Regions from separate parts of the Homo sapiens genome. Here regions 2, 3, 4 and 5 are each linked to region 1. Evidence: promoter capture Hi-C in 16 types of primary human blood cells and fetal thymus (Javierre and others, 2016). All regions are on one chromosome and are shown on one strand. The core of a region is centred on a gene start or on the middle of the fragment in contact, and the rest is flanking DNA. Distances in the headings are between cores, read along the strand shown.

Region 1 (2,700 bases), core at 99-2,598:
ATCTAATGGCGCAGCATCCACTCATACGTCTATGTTTCACCAGGGAAAAGTTTTTCTACATACAGTATCCATGTTACCCCCTCCCTTCCAGACTTAAAACAGCAAAAGGGTCTGGAAACTACAGCACTCATTTAATTAACCTGTCTAGATGCCACTCTATCTTTTCTCTTTCCCTCCTCAGACTTCCAGAGCCTCCACCTTAGCATATAGGGTTCCAATATAGCCATGTCTGCTCCCCCACTCTTGTATTGCTAATGCTAAAAACTAGAAAAGTCCTTTGCTCCTCCACACTTGGGCGACACCGGCTTCCCCATTTTCCCAAGCAGGAAAAACAAGGGAACAGTAAGCTAGGGAGTCTTTTGGAAAACAAACCCAGTTGAATTCTCATCCAACCCCAATTCTGCAAACCCACATGACCATTCCCTTCTGCCCTTCCCACCCTCTTAAAAGCTAAGGGCCTGGCAATTAGAATTGGCTGCAACTGATGCTGCTTAACTCTGTTCTCTCCTCCTCTCCACCGGGGAAAGGGAAACCCCCGAACCTCTATCACCCGTGCAGCTCCACTGTCCTATCTCCCATTCCACTCCCCTTCCTCCCAAACTTTCTTCCTCCCAGTCTCTCACTTTCTCCATTACCTCCTCCCACCGACACTCTCTCCATTCCCCAAGCCTCCGTTCTCTCCTTTTCCACCCAAATTCTCCCCTAGGCCCTTCCCCCTCCCACCTCCAATTTAACACTTTCGAAGCCCCCCAGAAACGTCTTAACTCCAATTCTGACCTTTACCCACCTCCTCGCAACACCCCTCATCAGAGTCCAGTCCTCCCTCCAACCACATGCCACAGCCCCCTTCCCCTTCACACCCTCAGCCTCTCCCTCCTGCTCCTACCCCCTTCAATACGAGCGGATCGCAGCCCCACTCCCCACCTCGGCCTCTCTAATACCCCTGGCTGGGCCCAGTCTCAGCCCTTGTTTACGCCCCTCCCCATGCCCTCACTCCTCCGTCTCGACCCCTGCCCTCTCCCGCAGTTGCCATCTCCCCTGCACGCCCCCCTCGGCAGCTCCCCTCCCCCACCTCTCAGCGTCCCGTCACCTCCCTCTCTTGAGGTTCTCAGGCTGGACGTCGCCACCGCCTCCCCCTCCACTTTCCTTCCCCAAGCCCTTTGCGGCCCCGCCCGGCCCCGCCCCGTCCCGCTCGACTCCCTCTCCCCACTCCGGCCGCCCCTCCGCCTCACTCTCGGCTCAGGCTCGGCGCCGCCATGTTGGATCCATCCGCGCCGCTCTCCCGGGCCTGCCTCACGGCGCCGCATCCGGGCTCCAGCAGCCGCCGCCGCCGCCGCCGCCGCGGCCGTGGGGGAGGGGACAGGCGGGCGGGGGTGGCTGCATCCTGAACGGCGCCTCCCGGAACCCGGCCGGTTAGTGGCGGCTTCGAGGCCATAGTGAGACATGAGCCGGAGTAGCCATAGTAAGTGAGGGCAGCCTGGCAGCGGCATTAATCGGGGAGTGGATAGCTTCACTTCGGGAGGAGAGATAGAGATTGGCAGCCATCTTGCTTTGGGGCAAGCTGGCAACGCCGGTTTGTCTTGACGGCTGCTTAGGGCGGTAATAAGGGATCGAAGAGGATAGCATTCTTGAATGGGAAACATTGGTGGCGCCACAGCTGGCTGGTGGCGACTTCAAGACCCACTGGAAGGCTGGGATTGGCAGCCATGACTCATAAGGGCGGAATACCACGGGGATCGGTTTGTCTGGCGAACTTGAGTGAAGGGTCAAGATCTGGATTTCACCTTTCCTCTGAGCTTCCTGATAACCCGGACGTTCCGTAAACCCGGATCCGGAGCCGAAAGTGGTGCCCAGATCCCGTCTCGGAATTCATTTGTTCAGCATTTACCTTTTGAACGCCGGTTTCCTGTAGGAAGTGTCGCCTAGCTGATCCGTGTAGGGCTGTTGGGAATTGGGGGTGGGGAGGATGGTGCGGGTACGTTCTGGTGTGGCTTAAGAAAGTGGTAATAGATAGGGGAAGACCAGATTATGCGAAGCCTTGTAAATTAATTGATTTTTATCCTTAAGGCAATGAAAAGTCTTTGAAGAATCTCAGCAGAGGTGTGAACAATTTCATTTGCATTTTAGATCGCTGCGTGCAGTGTGAAGGATGAATGAATTGAGGAGAATCAAGGAGAGCAGTTGTGAGGCTCTTTTCCAGGCAAGGATGATGATGGTCTGCCTGTGGAAGGGAGAGTGCGGATGGGGAGATACAGATTGGTTTAAGAGGTACGAATGTTGTGACTTGGACAACTGGGGAATAATGATACCAGTTTCTTTCTCGTTTAGGGGGGAGATAATGAGTTTTAGGTGCCCCTGGGATATTAGCTAATGTGGGTTGGGAACTCAAAAGAAAGGTTTGAGGTGTGTGTGCGTGTGCATATAGATAGCTGTTGAAGCCATGAAGTGGGCTGGAGAGGATACCTGCATTTGCGGGATAGGATGAGGGAAGCCGAAAAGAACACTGAGAAGGGGCAAACCGAAAGGAAAGAAGAAAACCATAGAGAACTATCAAGGAAACTGGTGAAAGCGTTTAGTGTAACAGAGATATAGTAAAATGCTAACTAAAATATATACATCAGGGCCGGGCATGGTGACTCACACCTGTAATCCTAGCTTTGGGAGGCCGAGGCGGGTGGATCACTTGAGGCCAGGAGTTCG
Region 2 (2,700 bases), core at 119-2,618, 730 kb before region 1:
GTGGGCCCCTGGTTTGGATGTGTAGGTGTTTTTCTGTGCTTGAGTGTGTGTGCACCCAGGGAGCGGCTGACCATGCATCTGCTGTGTGTTTGGATATGTGTTTATATGTATACTTAGGGGAGGGCGTGTATGTCTATGTGTGTGTACTGGGAGAGGGGTTCACGGGAAAGAGGTGTGTAGGTACTGAGGAAGGTGGGTGTGTAAGAGCAGAATGGAGTGTATGTGGATAGGTGTGTGTGCACCTGTGTACTGGGAAGGGGTGTGAATCTGTGTTCTCTTGTGTGTAACCTGTGTTGATGGGTATCAATGTGTGTGCCTGCCTTAGCTGGTATGTATGTTTCTGAGTGTGTGTCGGGGGTACCTCTAGACTCTGCAGGCAGATTTTCCTGGCAAAAATCCCGAAAAGAAGGCTGTCTGCAGGATTTTGAGACTTCGTGGATGGCCTCGCCTGGGTTTAGGGGTAGTACCTTAAGTATCTGAGACCTATGGGTGGGAGGGAATGAGTTGTCTTATGAAGTGCCTGTTTTTGGGGGATGGGTTTTTCTGGAAGAGGGCGTGTGTTGTGGGGAATAGGGAACAAGGGGTCTGGTTGTAGTCCTAGAGGAATTTGGAAGATTGGCGGGGTCAGGGAGAAGAATAAGAGGAACTTCCTCCCCCATCGTCATAGGCTGGGTTCCAGCGCTTGGAGAAGCTACACTCTTGGATTCCCAGCCTTAGGTAAAAGCTTCAGGCCACAGTTCTCTTGGAAAGCCGTCTCAGAGTTTGCTGCTTCATAGCCTTCTAACTCTGCCCTGACTCTAAGATCCTAAAGTTCCTGAGGAGTCTTGAGATTTTGGTGTGGGATGGAAACAAGAGGAGGAAGCATGTCTGGAGGGTTGAGACCTGGTGGGGAACAGCTTGGGTTCCCTGCCCATGGGGTTGAGAAGGTGGCATAGGGTGTTTCTTCAGCAGCTTTTGCAAGTGAGTCTGTGTGGTTTATCAGACCAAAAAGTTTCCCTTTTCCCTGGTGTCAAGCATGATTGAGATGGAGCTGTGGGTGTGGGGCCAGGGCTGAGTGTCTGTGTGTCGGGAAAGGGCCAGGTACCCATTGCAGGCTATACTGCTATACTCATCATCATGATAGTGTGGTGGGAAGTCAGTGACTATCCAGGAAGTGAATGTCTCTTTCCACCAAGAAGCCACAGCTCCCTTCTCTCCCTGTCCTCTCTCATCCTTTCTCTTTTGGGGTATAGGAAAGGGGTTGCTCACCTCCTTCTTTAGGATACTAGCCTTCCCCCATTGCACACTCTTTTTGCTGCCAGTGGCTGGGTTGAGGCACCCAGTTTTAAGAGCTGAGGTGAGATTGTACATACCCATTATGGTCTCTGGGCAATTGCAATTGGAATGTTAGAGTCTCTAATGGGCATGTGCAATTGGAATGTTCCCTCTTTAGTCCTCAGGGCTCCCTACCCTCCCTAAGGCCTGGAGATAAGAGTAGTAGGGGTTAGAAAATGTTTGAACGAGGAACGGGGAACGGGGCAGAGTAGGAAAAGACCTTTAAAAGACCTTTTTTTTTTTTTAATGGATCATTCCCCCAAACCCAACACCTGTCTGATAGTTAGGGCTCCCAGGGCTAGTAAGGCACTTGCATCTAAGATGGTGTGCCCTGGCCCTCTGGGGTCCCTTGTTTGCTCTGTATACGCTGATCACATGCATGATATATTATGCTGGTGGGGGCTCTCTTCCAAAGAGGAGGAATTGTGGTCAGATAATAGGAAATGCCATTTCTGAAAGTACTTCCAGATTGGGAGTCAGTGGCCACGTTGGCCCCTCCTCACCCATTGTCTTGCTCCTGACTTCTATTTCCTCTAATTCTTCCGGGGCAGGCCTCTCTGGTGTGTTTGCCTCTCCTCCTGATCCTTTTAGATCTGAGGAAATATCCCCCCTTCCCTGGCCCTAGAGCAGGACAGTTTTTTATCTGCTCATCTGGTTTCCAGGTCCTTCCAGTTAATGGGGAGGGAACTTGACTAACAGAAGCTTTGGCAGGGAAAAGGAAGAGATCTGATCCCCTCTGAGTTTTAGGGAACTCCAGTCTTCTCCTTCCCTCAAGTGTTCATCACATTGTGAGGCCAGAGAAAGGAGTCAGAGTTGGTTGGAATTAGTACTTAACAGTGGTGTGATCTGGGCAAGTAATAAACCCCATTCCCCAGCCTCTTAGGTGTCTTAAGGCACATCCTCCAAGCCTAGACTGAGCCCTTCCACAAGGAATCCCTGGTCCCCCACCAAGTGGCTTTCTTCCCTGGTTTGCTTTTAAATTCTGGCTTTGCCACTGTCTAATTCCGTGACATCAGACAAAACTGGTAACTTTTTGAAGCCTCACCTGTAAAATGGAATTAATAATAGGCCCTACTTCTTGGGGTTATGAGGATTAAATGAAATAATAGAGAAAGCACGTTGCACAGTTCCTGGCACATAGTAAATGTTAGCTGGATGGTTCGGATTCTGAGGGATAATCATCATTAAGGGAGAGAGGTCGGAGTCGGGATAGGAGAACTAGGCTTTGGTTCTGATCTTCCTTTGGCCGACCACATTAGGCACTCTCTCCTATCTGCCAGGCACAGTGTGAAGCACAGGGGATGGAGGGGCAAATAAGATGTTTTCCCAGGGGAGACATGTGAAAACATGTTGATTCACTGCAGCCCAGTGAGTGCTGTGTGGAGG
Region 3 (2,700 bases), core at 201-2,700, 870 kb before region 1:
AGACAAGAAGCCCACAGACAATTAAACTTGTAAAAGTAATTCAACCAGAGCTGGAACAAAGCCAAGAACAACACTCAAGCTCTTTGGGAAACTGGTAGGAATTTTATGACTTTAGTGGTCAGCAGTTGAGCATCAGCGCAGTCTGTCTTGAACTCAAGAATTTTAATGCCTCCAACTCCCACTCACCTTTCCTCCTTTTATCACTGAAGTAAGGCCAGGCTGAGCTCCTGAGAAAATAGGTCTGTAGATTCACTGAAGGACTGAGAAAAGTTAAAATTTACATGGCAAAGGTGTGTCTTCTACTGAACATAATAAAAATATTTATGAATACACTTTAGTATTTTTAGGCCTTCTCAAAACTACTTAAAAGCAGAATACTTTATCTAATTCTAATTACTGAACAAATAACCCACACACATATGGAAATAAAATGAACCAACATGAAGATTAGAAGCCAGGCAAGTAATCTCCCAGCTCCACTAAAACGTAAAGTCATTTAAAAGGATAACCTGAATCTTTTCAACGCTAAACCATAACCAAACAACCTCTCAACAAGAAGCCACAGAGCAGGGGGGGAAATCCCGGAGAGAATGTGATAGCGCTAGTGCCGGTTTGTTTACAGAGACTCCAGTAACAATCATGAGTCAGAAATTCAAGCCACCAGATGCTTTCCAACTAACAGGGACCAAATGGGACCGTTCTAAGATATCCTAAAAGATTTGGGAGTTAGAGGAGGTAAACTAAGATAATTATATTACAAAGGGTACAAGACCACAAGACAACAACCGACTCCGGAATTCTTGGACCTCCGCCTTCCGTACAAGGTGCTGGGCCTGGGAACTTGGGATGGGGGAGGGGGACACATTGCGCGGTGGCCCTGAGGTGACGGGGAGACGCAGGGCGAGCCGTGTCCCTCAATCTAAGGGGAGAAATAGGAGCGCACACATGGGTCACCCAACGAAGCAAGGCGTCCCTGTGAACTGTGCGGCTGGCTCTTGGGGGCAACACCAGGGCTGACCTGAGGAAAGGGCAACCAGTACTCCCAGCGATGACTTCGGGTCGGCGGAAGGAAAAGACCTGAGCGCTAAGAGCTTGGGATACGGGTCAGGCCCATCCTTAGGGGAAACCGGCTGGGAAGCGAGGGGGGGCGCAGGCCGAGCCGGAACGAGACACAGACCGGGTAGGTCAAGGGAGGGGGGGTGTCCGGCTGGGGCAGTTACAAGCACGGGAATCGGCGAGGCTCAGCAGCCCGCTTCCCGTCTTGGGTCATCCTTCTGCTAGCGGCTGCTCCGACTGTTCCAGGCCCAGCCGCCCCGTCCACTGCCACCACCAACGCCGCCGCCATCTTACACTGGCCAGCGGCCGCCACCACCACCGCCTCCGCTCTCTGCGCTTGCGCCTGCGCTGCCACGCTTTCCGGCCCCGTTTGCGACGATGTGCTCGAGAAGACTGAGGGAAGAGTGGTCGCGCGAGCTCACGGCTCGCAACCCTCCTCGAAGGACGCACAAGGGGCGGGGCTTAAGGCCAACGGAAAACAGAGCGAGAGGCGCCTGCGCATTACCGAAGAGGCAAAGTTGTTTTTGTAGTTTCTTCGGGCTTGCTTATCTTGTGATACTCTAAACAAATGCGAGTTAGGGGCTACCCAGAGTTGTGATAGAAATAAACTAAATTTCCAGCGGATTGGCAGGCCACTTCCTGGATGATGGCCAGTTTTGCCGTTTTTGAACACTGGAACGAGCAATGATTGCCACAAGGATTTCTTCTGAAAATCCCCGTTTCCTTTCAGGGCTTTGTTTCCTTAAGTGGTTTCTATACTATCGAGGCCCATTTTCCCCTGAGAGTCCCCATTTACGTATTTTTAAAGAAGGGGCTCAGTAGCTTGAGGTGTAGCTATTCCAGAAGCTCTTTTCTGAAGAGAGGTGGTGTGGGTAAAGGTTCCCAAGAGTGGGCCGGGTGATGTGGGGTGACTTTTGTACTCTGTTTCGTTATGACACCTACAGTAACCCTGCAGAGGATTACTCCCAGCTGCCAGGCTGGGGTATTTTTTTTTTTTTTCTTACCAGAAGCCCAGGGTGCAAAAATCTGACCCTTTCTCACCTCCCCTACCGCTACTCTCCTATTCCAAGTCATTACATATTACTTAAGACTACCGCAATAGAAACTTACCTCGTTTGTCTACTTCCATTATTGCCATTACAGTTAAACATAAGGCAGCCAGAGTGCTTTTTAAAAATGTAAGGTCTGGCCGGGCGCGGTGGCTCATGCCTGTAATCCTAGCACTTTGGGAGGCGGATGTGGGCGGATCACTTGAGGTCAGGAGTTCGAAACTCGTTTGAAACCAGGCCAACATGGTGAAACCCGTCTCTACGAAAAATACAAAAAAAAAAAAAAATTACCCGGCATGGTGGAGCGCGCCTGCAATCCCAGCTACTTGGGAGGCTGAGGCAGGAGAATTGCTTGAACCCGGAGGCGGAGGTTGCAGTGAGCTGAGATCGCACCACTGCACTCCAGGCTGGGCAATGGAATGAGACTCCGTCTCAAAAAAAAAGTAATGTCGTATTATTTCCCCAGTCCCCACCCTGCTCAAAACCTCCAATTCCCATCACATAATAAAAGTCAAAAGTATGATAGCCTTAGAGGCCATCAAAAAATGAATTGCCTCTAAGGAGGACCCTACATGATCTGATCTAGCACCTGCCT
Region 4 (2,700 bases), core at 48-2,547, 850 kb before region 1:
GTGAGCAAAGGCAAAGAAATCCCTTAAGGTGGAACAAATGTCCATCTCAGAGCTGGGAGGAGAGGATTAAAAAGTTCTGCAGAGACATCTCCATCTATAGTGTCTCCCTTGCCACACCCTAACGATTCCCTAGAAATCCCATACAAATACCCAACAGTAGTAGAGAACACAGATGTCCTCATCCCTCTGAACTCACTCTGGAGCTCTAAAAGGAATAACTTGGTGAGAAAGCACAGGACATCCCACCCAGCTTCCTGTTGGTACTGGTACCAGCACAGACTGAGGGACTACATACCAGACTCCATGGTACGGCATTAAACTATCTTCTCTTATTCTCCAGTTTAGTGCTCCCCAACAACCTTCTAGAGCTCCCTTTGGCCTGATCTCTGCAGATAACCGTACACTAATTTACACAGTCACTTGGCACTCCTCAGGGTTTCTGTTCATTTTTCTGCCTGCCCACATCTCCGTGATTGAGCAAGCGATTACAAATTCACCTCTGCCCTGAAAAGCCTGTGTCCTCACCACCATTCTGTTCGCCAGGCCTAGGGAGAGAGCACTGGCCCTACTCTGGGCAGGAAGTCAACAGGGGAGTGGAGAGTAATGCTAAGAAAACATCCCCCGTCTTTCAGGAGGGTGAACTGCTTTCCCCTGAAATCGCCACATCCTCAGTTTCTCAAAATAAGGGAAAGGAGTCCGCTTGAGCTACTGACAAGATGAAAGAACTGTTAAGGGGCCTAACGAGAGAAAGAGAAAAGGACTAGGAGGAGAAAAGTGTCTTTCGTGTTAAGGAAGACAGGACGAGGCACACAAGGACCGGCCACGAGCTTGCTAGGAGTTAATGTAAGCAATCAGTGAGTGCGTAGTTCGCTACCCAGCAAGAACCAAATGCTGCTGCTGCTGCTACTGCTGCTGAAGTCGAACTTTAAGAACTCAGTAACCTAAAGAGGAGTTTGAAGAGGTATCATGAAACGCCGTCCTGCGGAAACATCCACCATCCGGACCACTGAGGGACCCCAGGTGAGCTCCCCAGCTCCAGTCGCCGGGGTGGGGCAGGATGACCCAGAGATTTTTGGGGGGCTCGGGGGTCAGACTCTCCGCCCCCATTTAACCTTTGGAGAGCCTCTCCTGCCCGTCCCTAATATCTCAGGTTCACTTAACCCCCAGAATGGGTCCTCACACGTGCCCTCTTCGGGCCTTTCCCACTATGGGCTCTTACTTTCCAGAAGCTCCTCCAATTCCCTGTCCGCTTCGGCCCCGACACTACAGCCTTCCTCAGCGGCGGCCATCTTGCTACCTCCGACTTGCCGTAGGAGGCGGGACCTCCTCGGTGCCGACACGCCCTCCACCCCTTCGCTCCCGCCCTCTTCTGCCTCGGGTAACCAATGGTATTGTTGACCAGTGCGGAACCGCCATTTTTAAAGGGCCAGGAAGCTTTGAGTGTTTGTGTTTTGGGTATTTTTCCCTTTTCTCCTGTGAAACAGAATTAGGGATAAGATAGGGTTATTTTCTGTCTGGTTTTAGAGGCCCGGACTCCTTTCTTTCAACTTCCCAAATTACCTGGCGAAGCTCTTTCATTATTTTTTCCTGAGCTGTGAGTAGGCCAGATTGAGACAAACTGCCTACAAATAACCAGAATCTAAACATATATAATTGATATGACAATTATGGCACATAACATACTACTTTCTCTCACTTCATTTTTTTTTTTTTATTTTTTTTTGAGAAGGAATCTTGCTCTGTCGCCTACGCTGGAATGCAGTGGCGCCATCTCGGCTCACTGCAGCCTTGGCCTCCCGGGTTCAAGCGATTCTTCCTGCCTCAGCCTCCCGTGTAGCTGGGATGACAGGCGCGCGACACCACGTCCGACTAATTTTTGTAGAGACGGGGTTTTAACATGTTGGCCAGGCTGGTTGGCCAGGCTGGTCTCGAACTCCGGACCTCAGCTGATCCGCCCACCTCGGCCTCCCGAAGTGCTGGGATTACAGGCGTGAGCCACTGCGCCCGGCTTCACTTCATTGTTTCCCTCAAATATTATCTTTTCTGAAACGCTTTCCTTGGCCATTCCCGTTCCTTTTCTTCCTAACACTGAACAGTATCTGACATACTATCTACCGTACTTTTTTATTCTCCGCTCCCCACCCTGCAGAATTTAAACACCATGAACGCAAAGATTTTCGTCTGTTGTCTTCACTGCTGTAAAGCCCAACTCCCAGGCTAGGGTTTAAAACTTAGTAGGCATTCATTGGCCACTCTTTGCTCTCGCAGTCCCTAATCAGGCACATCTGTCTGCCCAATCTAGTGGCATCTCTCATTTCCTATTATCTATTAGAACTGTTTGATTAAAGGACACAGGGCCGGCCAGGAACTTAGAACTCCATGTTATTAAGAGAGCCTCTGGTACCTTGGACTGAGCAGGGCAATTCGAATGCAGTAGTAATAGACTTACTTTCCCTGAACAATCTCCTTTTCTCCACACAGAACCCAACCTCCAACTGAGTGAACACGGGGAATGCTCAGATAGAGGTAACTCTAGACGTCCCTTTCCTCCTTTGGAATTGTTCTATTCAGATGTCAGAATGTAGCAACTGTTTCACATACAAATCTGTTTTCGCACTTAGAGAGCACCTATTATTAAGGTCTTGTTCTGGGCACAGTGAGGACAGAGAGATAAATCAGGACCACCCCCTGCTGTAAGGT
Region 5 (2,700 bases), core at 192-2,691, 600 kb before region 1:
TTGGTGACCAGTGAAGCCTTCTGATCCAGGACTTCTCCTTGTTGGGAAGTTGTTTTAAAATTATTTACTTAATATTCTTAGTAGTTATAGGTCTAATCAGATTTTCTATTTCTTCATGATTCAGTCTTTGTAAAAATTGTGTCTACTTCATCTATGTTATCCAATTTGTTTGTAGTAGTCTCTTCTATTCATTTCTGAAAAATTGGTTGTAGTGTCCTCATTTTCATTTCCAATTTTAGTAATTTGAGCACTCTGTCTTTTTTTCCATAACCACTCTAACTAAATTTGCCAATTTCGTTGATCCTTTTAAGTAATCAACTTTTTGGTTCATTAATTTTCTCTATTTTATCTCTGGTCTAATCTTTATTATTTTCTTTATTTTGATAGCTTTGGGTTCATAGTAGTGGCACTTTCCCACTTGAGATCTGAATTAAGTGAAATAGAGACCAGTTCTTCATGGACTCCTAAGACAGATTAGAATATTGCAAATAAGATCTGTTATGTTCCCTCCCATTCAAGAGAGGGAACTGAGAAGTGAACTCCTGCCTCCTCTAAACAAGCTTTCTGTTGGGATGAGGAGGGGATGGGGCAAGGGCAAGAAAAATGCCATGGAACTTTTCCTACCATTTCAAAAGTGGCTTTTTCTTCATTGGGCATTTGATTGGTTGTTATAAAACTCTGACTGTTTTCCAGAGTCCCTATAAGGTTAATTCAACCATTTGGGTTTTTTTTTGTTTGTTTGGCTGTTTTTTTATTACTCTAAGTTGGGGGAAAGAGAGAGTTTGGAATTTCCTAGTCCACCACTTTGCTGACATCACTCTCTCTATCTCTATACTTTTACACTGATTTTTAAAAAGATGATAGAAATGTGTTCACATATTTCTTAAGTAACTAAAAATTAGTGACATTATCCAAGATCTTGGTGGATAAATAATATTCTCTCTGAAGAACCAATGCCCCTTAGAAAAATGACTGATTCTAGATGTGAGATAGCCTCTTATATGTATTTCTTGACTCACTTTACTAACAAGGATCTTCAATACAATACAGTTGAAGAGTAGCAGTGATCTTGTATTCACTGAATACAAGAATGGTTACTTGTATTCATTTCTTTATTAAGAATGCCTCTAATGTTTCCAATAAATGTTTGCTACATATGCTGTATCAAGTTGTAAAAGTTTAACCCGAGCCAGTCATTTGCTTATTTGCTCTCAGCTCTATTCCCACCCTTCTGTGTTCCTTGTTTTTCAGAAGGTTAGAAGTCTGCAAACTACATTTATCATTTCCATTGTCAGATGGCTTCTGATTAGATTTTGTCACTGGGTGGTATTGGTTAAAGTTGGATGGAAGGAATAAATTATATATTTTTCCATAATCTTGGTTTCTGGTAATGTTTTCAGTAGTGGCAGTGATAGCAGAAGATGAGTACCGCTTCAGGGTTCCTGGTGTAGCAGTGCAGTTCCAGCAAGCATGTCAGAAGTCTTGCTAGTGTGGTACTGGTGGGATCAGGCTTTGATGGTGGCATCTGCAGTGGTGAGTTATTTTTGTCTCCCAGAGTCTCACAGTTTTGATGAGACTGTGAACTCTTAGAATCTTGAAAGCTGGCAGCACTGATTCCCAAGACAAATTTCCATAGGGACAAAGTTCCATAGCAACTTCCTGGAATTATTAATTGCTTGGTAACCTCAGCTTCCCTGTTTTACTCCTCCATCACTTTTGGAATCAATTCCCTATATTCAGCTTGTTGAGTTTTCAGTATTTAACATGGTCTCAGTTTTTTAAAATTGGATATTGACTAAAACACATTCTATTTTTAGCTTTCTTGAAAACTTTTTAAATCAGTCATGGGTATTCAGTTTTATCAAATATATATTGTAGACTATGTCAGGATGATTATTTTTTTCATCTCCTTTAATCTGTTTGAACAGCAAATTACAATAGATGGTTTCTTAAAGATAAATCATCCTGGCACTCTAAGGATAAAATCCTACTTGGTCGCATTTTTTTTTCTTTTAATGCATTGCTTTAAAATTGACTGAAGTTTAAGATTTTTAACATTTATATTTATAAGTGAGATTGGACTATATCAGGATGTGGCAGACTTTTTCTGTAAAGGTCCCAGTAGTGAATATTGGACTTTGTGGACCATACAATCTCCTTTGCAACTACTCAACTCTGCTGGTGTAGTATGGAAGCAGCCATAATAAACACATAAAAGAATGCGTGTTGGCTGTGTTTCAATAAAACTTTATTTATGGATGCTGAAATTTGAATTTCACATAATTTTAACATGTCCCAAAATATTATTATTCTTTGAATTCTTTTCAACCATTTTAAAAATGTAAACTATTCTTAGTTCGTGGGTCAAATAAAAACAGATGGCAGACTGGATGTGGCCACACGCCATAGTTTGCTAACTCCTGGCCTATGTATCTCTTTGTGGGGGATCATCCTTATCTGGCTTTGGAATCAGTGTTATATTATAGTATTTAATGAATTTGGAAGCTTCCCACTGTTTTCTATGCCTTGGGACAGTTAAGATGACTGGGAATTATCCTTTCATTGTAGGTGATAGGACTAGCCCTTAAGACCATCTAGGCTGGTACACTTTTGGCAATTAGACCACTGAATATCTTTCCATTTTTTTTCAGGTTAAAGAATTTCTTCTAATTATAAACTAACTTTCTCTCTCTCTTTCTT

What was found. Contacts are between HindIII fragments. The CHiCAGO score rates a contact against its expected background, and 5 or more counts as called.
Region 2: a fragment that was not itself captured here is called in contact with the fragment with the promoter of DEDD in region 1 in 1 of 17 cell types (fetal thymus); the score reaches 5.1 in fetal thymus.
Region 3: a contact is called between the fragment with the promoter of DCAF8 here and the fragment with the promoter of DEDD in region 1, in 2 of 17 cell types (non-activated CD4 T cells and total CD4 T cells). The highest score is 8.0, in non-activated CD4 T cells.
Region 4: the fragment with the promoter of PEX19 here is called in contact with the fragment with the promoter of DEDD in region 1 in 5 of 17 cell types (non-activated CD4 T cells, fetal thymus, total CD4 T cells and 2 more); the score reaches 7.5 in non-activated CD4 T cells.
Region 5: a contact is called between the fragment with the promoter of CD84-AS1 here and the fragment with the promoter of DEDD in region 1, in 11 of 17 cell types (total B cells, total CD4 T cells, naive B cells and 8 more). The highest score is 16.7, in total B cells.

The regions. Positions count from the first base shown.
Region 1 is chr1:161,131,319-161,134,018 of GRCh38, forward strand. It overlaps DEDD (death effector domain containing), which reads right to left and starts at 1,349. Exons shown (of 6, transcript NM_032998.3): 1 at 1,233-1,349. RefSeq lists enhancers at 219-1,042, 1,504-1,813 and silencers at 864-1,083, 1,134-1,483. The HindIII fragment of the contact is 8,185 bases long and covers 1-2,700 here.
Region 2 is chr1:160,401,602-160,404,301 of GRCh38, forward strand. All of the region lies in intron 1 of VANGL2 (VANGL planar cell polarity protein 2), which reads left to right. All of the region lies in intron 3 of LOC105371466 (a long non-coding RNA gene), which reads right to left. Among named protein-coding and RNA genes, the nearest start is that of VANGL2, 2.4 kb to the left of the region's middle. The HindIII fragment of the contact is 1,292 bases long and covers 723-2,014 here.
Region 3 is chr1:160,261,099-160,263,798 of GRCh38, forward strand. It overlaps DCAF8 (DDB1 and CUL4 associated factor 8), which reads right to left and starts at 1,451. Exons shown (of 14, transcript NM_015726.4): 1 at 1,351-1,451; 2 at 187-260. It overlaps DCAF8-DT (DCAF8 divergent transcript), which reads left to right and starts at 651. Exons shown (of 2, transcript NR_147618.1): 1 at 651-824; 2 at 1,303-1,680. RefSeq lists enhancers at 386-1,334, 506-635, 1,266-1,535. The HindIII fragment of the contact is 7,814 bases long and covers 1-2,700 here.
Region 4 is chr1:160,283,836-160,286,535 of GRCh38, forward strand. It overlaps PEX19 (peroxisomal biogenesis factor 19), which reads right to left and starts at 1,298. Exons shown (of 8, transcript NM_002857.4): 1 at 1,220-1,298. The coding sequence starts at 1,289. It overlaps LOC107985219 (a long non-coding RNA gene), which reads left to right and starts at 530. Exons shown (of 3, transcript XR_001738265.2): 1 at 530-1,020; 2 at 2,482-2,526. The HindIII fragment of the contact is 4,290 bases long and covers 1-1,432 here.
Region 5 is chr1:160,535,655-160,538,354 of GRCh38, forward strand. CD84-AS1 (CD84 antisense RNA 1) reads left to right here and starts at 1,442. Exons shown (of 2, transcript NR_188634.1): 1 at 1,442-1,533. The HindIII fragment of the contact is 1,945 bases long and covers 559-2,503 here.